Regions from separate parts of the Homo sapiens genome. Here all the other regions are linked to region 3. The links are contacts of gene promoters, found by promoter capture Hi-C in human tissues and cell types (Jung and others, 2019). All regions are on one chromosome and are shown on one strand. The core of a region is centred on a gene start or on the middle of the fragment in contact, and the rest is flanking DNA. Distances in the headings are between cores, read along the strand shown. Region 1 overlaps COPB1 (coat protein complex I subunit beta 1). Region 2 overlaps COPB1 (coat protein complex I subunit beta 1). Region 3 holds the start of PSMA1 (proteasome 20S subunit alpha 1).

Region 1 (3,494 bases), core at 348-2,847, 62 kb after region 3:
AAAAAAACGAGAGAGAAAGAAAAATGAAGCTGGAGCTCTAAGGAACTTTTTTCTTTATGTAAAATTTCTATAATGTTATAATATTCATTTTATAAATAAAATAATGTCTGCTACCAAACAAGTAGGTTTTAATTTATATATTAGTTTATTCAGCATATACTGAGTCCAACAAAAGTAGTCTCTTCCTTCATGGCGCTTAAGGTCTGATATGGGAGGCAGTCAAGCAAGTTAAGTAAACAGAATATATAAATACAAATCGGATTAAGAACTATTTATTTAACATCAGATTTATTGAGGTATAATACACAGTAAAATTCACACTTTTTACATGTATAGTTGAGTTTTGACAAACTCATAAGATTATGTAACCACCACCCTGTATGTAAGTACTGTTTTAAGTGATAAATAACCAATGGGGCTGGGCGTGGTGGCTCACACCTGCAGTCCCAGCATTTTGGGAGGCCGAGGCGGGTGGATCACTTGAGGTCAGGAGTTCAAGACCAGCCTGGCCAACATGGTGAAACCCTGTCTCTACTAAAATTACAAAAATTAGCCAGGTGTGGTGGCGAATGCCTGTAATCCCAGCTACTTGGGAGGCTGAGGCAGGAGAATCGCCTGAACCTGGGAGGAAGGTTGCAGTGAGCCGAGATCACGCCACTGCACTCCAGCTCCAAGCTGGACAACAGAGTGAGACTCTGTCTCAAAAAAAAAAAAAAAAAAGTCACCTATGCTGTTTGGTTTTTGCCTCTATGTAGGTATCTGGTAAAGTAATGAATTTATCACAAATTTTTTCCAGGCCCTTTCTGGTTACTGTGGCTTTATGGCAGCCAACCTTTATGCTCGTTCCATATTTGGTGAAGATGCACTTGCAAATGTCAGCATTGAGAAGCCAATTCACCAGGGACCAGATGCTGCTGTTACCGGCCATATAAGAATTCGTGCAAAGAGCCAGGTAACAGTTCCTTTTTTTTTGAGAGTATCTCTGGACTGACAAAGGGGGGAGGAATTTATGACTTTATTATTTCTATATGTAGTATCTTTTTAGCATTAGATGCATATACACATACAATAATAATATACTCTGAATAGAAGTATAACTTTTCTCATTAAAATTTCTCACCTTTTGGGCCCCTCATTCTGGGATATTTGCCTAAAACCAGATTGATTCCTATGGGGTGTTTGTGAAATGGGTTCTCTAGAATTTTTTGAAAGCCAAGGTGTAAATCTAGTGACTAATTAGCTGGGTGTTGTAGCGCACACCCGGTAATCCCAGCTACTCGGGAGGCTGAGGCAGGAGAATTGCTTGAACCCGGGAGGTGGAGGTTGCAGTGAGCTGAGATTGTGCCATTTCACTCCAACCTGGGTGACAGAATGAGACTTCGTCTCAAAAAAAAAAAAAAAAAAAAAAATCTGGTGACGGCTTGAAAAATCTAGCACTGAAAGGTAATTACCAGTAAAGTTTGGTAAGTCTGTTTGGTATGTCCTTGATTTTATTGTTGATAATGGTGTCATTGAATTGAATTGGGGCTTAATAATATGGAATAACCTACTGATTGTACATAGTTTAAATAATTATAAATATCTTAATTTTTCTTTACAGGGAATGGCCTTAAGTCTTGGAGATAAAATCAACTTGTCACAGAAGAAAACTAGTATATAAAAATAAACAAAAAGTCCTTGAAGCTTTACAGTTAATTTAGGTATGGGCTTACTGGACTCCAACATCTTTTGTACTCTTTCATGCTTATATAGAATCTGAGTTCATGCTGAATACTTTTCAGCCAATAATTTATAGCCTTTCCCTTAAATCAAGATTGAGTTTAAAATTATAGTTTGTCTTTTGTCTTAACAGTTCTGAATGCTGTCCTCAAAGTATATAATGTTTCATGTACCAAGACCCTTTTCACAGTACAATAAACAGATCTATTCATAAATTTTTGTTATTTTATAAATAAATGATTACATAATTTTAGTTATATGGCAATGGATTTCTTTTAGTTGGGTTATAAATTTCTATTATAAATTTAAATTACTGAGTTGTGAATATATGCAGCTTTATTAAGAGAATTTACAAATTCAATGATATAAAATAAGGTAGGCCTTGATTCACTTGGTTGTTTTTTACTTATTTAATATTCCAACATTGCTATCTCTAAAAATGCATTATCATGTTTTGAAGGGATTTGCTCTTGAATTTAGCTCCAGGGAGAAAGTATCAAAATAACTTTTTTTTTTTTTTTTGAGATGGAGTCTGGCTCTGTCACCCAGGCTGGAGTGCAGTGGCGTGATCTTGGCTCACTGCAAGCTCCACCTCCCGGGTTTACACCATTCTCCTGCCTCAGCCTCCCAAGTAGCTGGGACTACAGGTGCCCGCCACCACGCCTGGCTAATTTTTTGTATTTTTAGTAGAGACGGGCTTTCACCATGTTGGCCAGGATGGTCTCGATCTCCTGACCTCGTGATCCGCCCGCCTCAGCCTCCCGGAGTGTTGGGATTACAGGCGTGAGCCACCGCACCCGGCCCAAAATAACTTGAGAAAACAGATCGCTCTGCAGTTTAAAGAAGTATTATGTACCCGAACTGAAATAGATATACTGTTCTTAATTATCCTGAATCATAATGAAGAGTAGATAATCCAAAATAGATTTTTTAATCATTCACATTTAGTTTGGGGTGTTCTATGTTTGTTAGGAATAAAACTGGTTCTAACCAATTACTGAAGCTGGTACTGGGAGGATTCAACTAGAGAGGATTCAAAAAGCTGCCTTTTTCTCTGTTGCCTCCGTGCCTTACTCACATTTAGTTTAGGGTGTTCTATGTTTGTTAGGAATAAAACTGGTTCTAACCAATTACTGAAGCTGGTACTGGGAGGATTCAACTAGAGAGGATTCAAAAAGCTGCCTTTTTCTCTGTTGCCTCTGTGCCTTACTCACTCGTCTCCTTTTCCTCACTTCACACTAGGACTGGGTACCATCACACTGCAGTATAATTCCAAATGCATTTCCAAGCTAAGTTTCCCAGCGTCTGATTGTGCTTTCCTTTTGGCCTTTACTTTCATTGGGGGTGATTGAGGTAGTCTGATTTTTTAGCTAAGTCTAAACTTAAGGCTATTATTTGTCTACCAGCTAGGGTTCAGGCTGCATTCCCTGTGAGTCCTTAGATAAGGTCTGTGAAAGACTGAAAGCATCTCCTATTTCATTAAGAATGAAATGATTTGTTTGGAGTATAAGGAGATTGATACCTTGTATGATGTCATAAACTGTGAAGCCACTTGCTTTTAAAAAAAAAAAAAGAAAAAAAAAGCCTAGATTACAGGGCATTTGAGATTCCAGAACACTGAGATCTTAGAACAAAGCCAGGGCTTATCAAATGGGAAAGATATACTGGAAGTGCAGAGAAGGGATGTCGATTCAAGGGTAGAGATTTGCAATGAGAGCGAAGGAGCTGGTGCAACTTTGGATTAGATCATCATTTCCCAAACTCTGTTCTACTGA
Region 2 (3,236 bases), core at 185-2,684, 44 kb after region 3:
CTTGTTTTTTTTTTTTTTTTGAGACGGAGTCTCGCTCTGTCACCCAGCCTGGAGTGCAGTGGCGCGATCTTGGCTCACTGCAAGCTCCGCTTCCCGAGAATGGGTTCCCGCCATTCTCCTGCCTCAGCCTCCCGGGTAGCTGGGACTACAGGCGCCCGCCACCATGCCCGGCTAATTTTTTTGTATTTTTAGTAGAGACGTGATTTCACCATGTTAGCCAGGATGGTCTCGATCTCCTGACCTCGTGATCCGCCCGCCTCGGCCTCCCAAAGTGCTGGGATTACAGGCGTGAGTGCCTGGCCCTTGTTTTTATTTGAGCTTAAATTAACAAAGAAAGATCTCTGCTTCAAGATTTGTCTGCCAAGTTCATGTTTCAGATCTTGTATTGTGCTAGGATTTACCGAGGAGCATTATGGATCCTGGGAGAATACTGTAGTACCAAGGAAGACATTCAGAGTGTGATGACTGAGATCCGCAGGTCCCTTGGAGAGGTATGTTTTACTTTAGTAAATGTTAGTTTATATGGTAATTTTTCCTTTAGGAAAATCTGACTTTTTATAGTGATTTGCTTACATTATTTACACTTCTGAGTTAGATTTTGTTTGAACAAAATGTTCTGTGTTTATTAAAAAAAAAAAAAAAAAAAAGAAGCAGTAGCTTGTAAAATTCTGCTTTAGCCTGTATTCTGAAGGAAGAATGCCTTAGAGTAAGTCTGACTTCAGAATATTTATGCAGTAAAACTGACAGTATTCTTCATCCTAACAACCTTATGGTAGAATAGAAAGAACAGTGGACTAATTATCAGGAGACCTGACAATTAGTTCTAGTCATTGTTGTGTCGACAGTTAGCTGGAGGACCTTGAATATAAGTTCCTCAACCTAACTTGACATCAGTGTTTTTCACCTATAAAATAAATTAAAATAGGTAATGATTAAATACTCTTAGTGCTCTTATATTAGGTAATGGACTGGTATTGAGTAATAAATACATAATAGCCATTCAGTTAATTTAAAAGTTAGTTGATGAGGTTATTATGTACAAATAAGTCGGATTTATTTCATTTTAGAAGGATGAGTACTGTTTTGGTTAAAATTTCAAGGAAAGGAATGAAGAAGAGGAATACGACTTAATGACCATCTGCTTTGTGTTAGACACTGTCCAATGCATTTTTCTATTAGGTAAAATGTGTAGAAAGAATTAAGATTTCCACTTAGCAGATTAAGAAACTGAGGTCCAAAGTAGTAAGTGGCAGAGTGAGAATTCAAACCCTGGAATATCCATCTCTGAAGCCCCTATTCTACCTACTACATTATCCTGGGAAGGAAATAAATTGAAAGCAGAGTTCCCAGTTCCAAAAATCCCATTAGGGTAATGCCTTTTTTAGAGAAACAATCAAATATTTAAAGATAATTTTGCTTGCTGTTGATACTATTACTAAAATGATGTTTCCAATTGACTTTTAGATCCCAATTGTAGAGTCAGAAATAAAGAAAGAAGCTGGTGAATTAAAACCTGAAGAAGAAATAACTGTAGGGCCAGTTCAGAAATTGGTTACTGAAATGGGTACCTATGCAACTCAGAGTGCCCTTAGCAGTTCTAGACCCACCAAGAAAGAGGAAGACAGGTAATTTATGGCACATATACCCTGCCAGCTGTACTACTTTTATTATTACTCTTGTATGTAAGACAGTCAAATGATTTCTTTCCTCTTGCTTTTGCAACCAAAATGAAAATCTTTGCCATTTAAGGTACTTGAGAAGCGGAGGATGTTTAAGTTCTTCCCCCTAGGAATTGTATTGATGGTTTTAATTCTCTGTCCCTTCCAGTGTTTTTATGGAAATAACTGTTCTGTTTAAACTCAAATTATTTTTACTCAGAAAATGCTAAGTGGGGGTAACTGAAGATATTTGAGTTTTGTTGTTTATTAGCATCTGAAAACATTTTGAAGATTTTTCAATTTCTAAATGATGGAATAAAATTGTGCATTTTTCTATTAAGTAAATTTTAATGGTGAAGATGGTGAAATCTTTGCCTAAAATTTTACTGAATACCCACTAAGTGCTAGGCATTGTGCTAAGTAGTTTGTCTCATATAGTCTTGACAATAAGCCTTTGAGATAGAATATATTATCTCCATTTTATGGAAGAAGAATTTGAGGCTTACCCAGTAAATAAACAGGTAAGCTGGAATTCGGAGGTACTTCATTAGCTGCAATTACGTATGCCCCTAATTAAATATTGTATCTTTCCATATTCTGATGGCTTTTGTGTCATTCAAAGATAAGTTTTCTTTTTTTTTTTTTTTTTTTTTTTTTTGACACAGAGTCTTGCTCTGTCGGCCACGCTAGAGTGCAGTGGCGCGATCATGGCTCACTGCAACCTGTCTCCTGGGCTCAAGCAGTTCTCCTGCCTCAATCTCCTGAGTAGCTGGGATTACAGGTTTGTGCCACCATGCCCAGCTAATTTTTGTATTTTTAGTAGAGACGGGGTTTCACCATGTTGGCCAGGCTGTCCTCGAACTCCTGACCTCAGGTAATCCGCCCGCCTTGGCCTCCCAAAGTGCTGGGATTACAGGTGTGAGCCACTGCACCTGGCCAAAGATAAGTTTTAAAGTCATGTATTATTTTTCTTTTTCCTTCTTTCTTCTGGGAGCTAAGGAGTTAGTTAGCTAAGGTATCCTTATCACTGAAGGATGGTAATAAGAGTGTTTAATAGGCCTATATCATTCATTTATACAGAAGCTGCATGCTGCTTAGCAAGTTGGTGGGTTTGATTTTCCTTGGTTGCTTTGCAGACCTCCCTTGAGAGGATTCCTTCTGGATGGAGATTTCTTTGTTGCTGCCTCCCTTGCCACAACTCTGACCAAGATTGCATTGCGCTATGTAGCTTTGGTTCAGGAGAAGAAAAAGCAAAATGTAAGTTCATTTATTTTACATTTAACCAACAATTAAACATTGAGTGCCTACTATATGCATTGAACAGTGAGGGACTCAAAAATTAATGCTAAGTTTCTGTCATGAAAGAGTTTATGATTTAATAGCAGAAGTGGACACAGTAATATATTACTCTAAAATTGATAAAGTATCTTCCTCTTCTGTTTGGGCTTTAAAAAAATGAAAATTGACAAAGTAATACAATAACAATGTCATGTGATTATTCCAGTGGAAGAGAAAGGATTTATGAAGTCACCTCAGTTTGCTGGGATTAGTTCAGGACCAGTGAAGGAAATGTCCTTC
Region 3 (3,346 bases), core at 661-3,160:
GAAACAATTGAATTGCACACTAATAATTAAGCAAATTATTATATTTCCATACAATAAAATACTATGCGACTATTGAAAATAATATAGACCATTACTTATGGACATATGATAGCTATAACTTTTTAAGTGTATTAATAAAAACAGTATCATCTTATTTTTAAAAATTGTATATTTATTACACATCTGTGTGAGGCATGTGACTAGAGAGATATATATGGAAAGAATTTTCAAAATGTTTATGTAGTATATGACAATTTTTAAATGAGCATTTATTTAATCAGTTAGCACTATTTATAAACACTTAATATGTGCTACGCATTGTGCTAGGTCCTGGAGAAACGAAAGAGAACAATCTATTAATTTAATCTGTTAATTTAGTCCACCAAATCAACAGTGTTTTTCAGAAATACGACAATAACCAGTGTTGATGAATTAGAGAAGGTAACCTCATATACTACTGTTGAGAGTATATGTTGGTAAAACATTTCTGGAGAACAATTTAGTACTTTGTTTTTTGTTTTTTTTTTTTTGAGATGGAGTCGCACTCTGTCGCCCAGGCTGGAGTGCAGTGGCACGATCTCAGCTCACTGCAACCTCCGCCTCCCGGGTTCAAGCGATTCTCCTGCCTCAGCCTCCTGAGGCACGCCACCACGCCCGGCTAATTTTTGTATTTTTAGTAGAGACGGGGTTTTACCATGTTGGCCAGGATGGTCCGATCTCCTGACCTCGTGATCCACCCGCCTCTGCCTTCCAAAGTGTTGGGATTACAAGCGTGAGCCACCGCGCCCGGCTTTTTTTTTTTTTGAAACAGAATCTCTATTGCCCAGGCGGGCTGGAGTGCAACGGCGCGACCATGGCTCACTGCAACCTCGATCTCCCTGGCTCAAGAGATCCTCCCACATCAGCTTCCCGAGTGGCTGGGACCACAGGCCCATGCCAACATGCCCAGCCTTTTTTTTTTATTATTCTTATTCTTATTCTTATTCTTATTATTATTGTAGCGACGAGGTCCCACTGTATTAAAATAATATAGTGATCTCAAACTCCTGGGTTCAAGCGATCCTCCGCCCTCGGCCTCCAATAGCGCTGGGATTACAGGCGTGAGCCACCACACCCAGTCTCTTTTTTACAAAGAATATAAATAGCCGGTGGATGTCAGACTATTTCGTTATGGAAAGATGCTCTCAAAAGACGAAATAGATAAATCGAAAGAAAGTGTCCATTTTTTCTCAGTGGCCTAATCTGTCAGGTACCATGCTTGGTTTTGGGGGCATAGAAAGACATTAGCGCCCTCATGGAGTTCAAAGTCTGGTGGAAGAAATCAATCATAATAACAATGAGGGGTTAACGACAACAGACCCTTGAAAGATAACATCTCCAGGGAATAAGGAAGAGCATTCCAAAGTATTTTGCCAAATGGCAAAAACCGCAGTTACTTTTGCACCAACCTTAATGCAAATAAAAGCATGTACACAAACAAGATACTCGAGGAAGAATACAGCTGACACACAGAAACGGATCGTTATCTTGTGGCTTTCCTGCAGCCTCGTTCCTTTCAGTCACATAACACCCCAAATCTGTGGACGGTTAATGAGAGCTAGTATCACCCAGAGTCACGGCTGTTGACTCGGACGACTTTAGATGCAGCCCGCCAGCGGGAGAAACTGGAGGGAATCCGCCATACACAGGAACCTAGAAGGGCTACGTGACAGGGGCTGCCCCGCAGCTCTCAGCCGCCGGCACTCCCAGCCAGGTTTTCCCGCCAGTCTCAGTTCCTAGATCTTCCGAGGCTCCGCCCGCCGCCGAGCGGTCGGAAAGTTTTAAGGAGGGGGAAGTGTTGCAAGCCTATCGATATCTCTGGAATAGACTGCGCTACCCTGCGCCGCCGCCGTCAAACTCCCGCAGACTTCTCTGTAGATCGCTGAGCGATACTTTCGGCAGCACCTCCTTGATTCTCAGTTTTGCTGGAGGCCGCAACCAGGCCCGCGCCGCCACCATGGTACGTTGAATCCCGATCTCTGGAAGGTTTAGGGCAGAGCTCTGGTGACTGGGGGATGACGAGCCACCTCTCCTGTCATCCTTAGCGTCGCCCGGTGCCACGAGGTATGAGAGCCTCGGCAGACGGCCGGGCTCCGGCAGTGATTCAGCATCTCCGGCCTGGCCGGGCTAGGGGTTATCGGTAGCCAGTGCGGCCTTTCCACCGCTTTCGCTTCCCGGGGAGCCTCCGACACTTCCTCCTCGGTCAGCTAGATGAGTTCGCCCCTCAGGTTCCTTCAGTGGAGTAGATTCTGAGCGGTCCAGAATAGCTCCTAGTGCTGTGTATGGGAGAGGAGAAGACAGAGACTTGACTTGGAGGCCTACCTGTACCACCAGTGCGGACTTGACCCCCAGGTTTGTGTTCCTGGACAGCGTCCGTTTTCCTGGTGGGTCCGTCTATTTATCTCTCGCCTAGACTTCGATTAGAAGAGGCCCTTTTCAATCATTTTGTCCAGTCACCTAGTTGCGGATGAGTAAGCCGAGGCTGAGAGGGGAAGTGATGGAATCAGGGTTACAATATAGGGTTCTGGGTTTCCAGTTCTGTCTGCCATTCTAGCACTCAATCTCACTCCCATGACTATTATTATAATAGTCGTAATAGCCGTAATGGTTCTATCGCTGCAGCTATTTGTGTCCACCTCTAACTTTGTGAGGACATTTTTGTTCATTCAATGTGAATATACAGACAGCACTTGTACAGGCATAACTACAGTGAACATTAAAAAATAAGTCATACATGTCCCTAATCATAAAAACAGAAAGGGACGTTTAGATAAAGAGCTGTGGGAGTATATGTTAGGGGGATTTGGGAAGAAAAGGAGAAGACTTCAAGAAATCGACATTTAAGCTACCTTAAAGAAAAGGAAGACTTTTAACCATTTATTAGGGCCCAATAAAAGGGAGCAGCATAAGCAAAAATAGGCAAGAAAGTTGATTGTGAACTTTAGTAATTGAGCCTAAAGGGGTTGATATGGAGGGTGTTAGAATAAGAGTTTGGAAAAATAGGACCCATTTAGATCTGCTTCTCCCTCTCCCACGAGTTTATGGTAAATGTAGAATTGGCTTACATCTGAGTACAGTAGTAATCTTCCAGTAAGACTGCATGAACAGAGTGCCTTAACATTGAATGGAAATACAAGCATATTTCTTAATGAATGTTAAGAGTTGGGATTTGAAATGTTCTTCTATTAACAGGTATTTTTTTCTTTTACTTTTAGTTTCGAAATCAGTATGACAATGATGTCACTGTTTGGAGCCCCCAGGTAAAATAATGTTTTTAAACCTTTTCTGTGAAGTGGCTTTTTGTGGC

The links. The method cuts DNA at HindIII sites, captures the fragments that hold promoters and counts their contacts. A contact is called where the count stands out against the background at its distance.
Region 1: a contact is called between a fragment that was not itself captured here and the fragment with the promoter of PSMA1 in region 3, in 1 of the 25 tissues and cell types used here (H1 embryonic stem cells).
Region 2: a fragment that was not itself captured here is called in contact with the fragment with the promoter of PSMA1 in region 3 in 2 of the 25 tissues and cell types used here (H1 embryonic stem cells and mesendoderm cells).

The regions. Positions count from the first base shown.
Region 1 is chr11:14,455,990-14,459,483 of GRCh38, reverse strand. It overlaps COPB1 (coat protein complex I subunit beta 1), which reads left to right. Exons shown (of 22, transcript NM_001144061.2): 21 at 797-952; 22 at 1,601-1,972. The coding sequence ends at 1,660. Among named protein-coding and RNA genes, the nearest start is that of COPB1, 42 kb to the left of the region's middle. The HindIII fragment of the contact is 5,216 bases long and covers 1-3,494 here.
Region 2 is chr11:14,474,174-14,477,409 of GRCh38, reverse strand. COPB1 (coat protein complex I subunit beta 1) reads left to right here. Exons shown (of 22, transcript NM_001144061.2): 12 at 395-491; 13 at 1,465-1,625; 14 at 2,795-2,915. Among named protein-coding and RNA genes, the nearest start is that of COPB1, 24 kb to the left of the region's middle. The HindIII fragment of the contact is 6,579 bases long and covers 1-3,236 here.
Region 3 is chr11:14,518,950-14,522,295 of GRCh38, reverse strand. It overlaps PSMA1 (proteasome 20S subunit alpha 1), which reads left to right and starts at 1,910. Exons shown (of 10, transcript NM_002786.4): 1 at 1,910-1,999; 2 at 3,255-3,299. The coding sequence starts at 1,997. RefSeq lists enhancers at 1,779-1,968, 1,503-2,117. The HindIII fragment of the contact is 15,381 bases long and covers 1-3,346 here.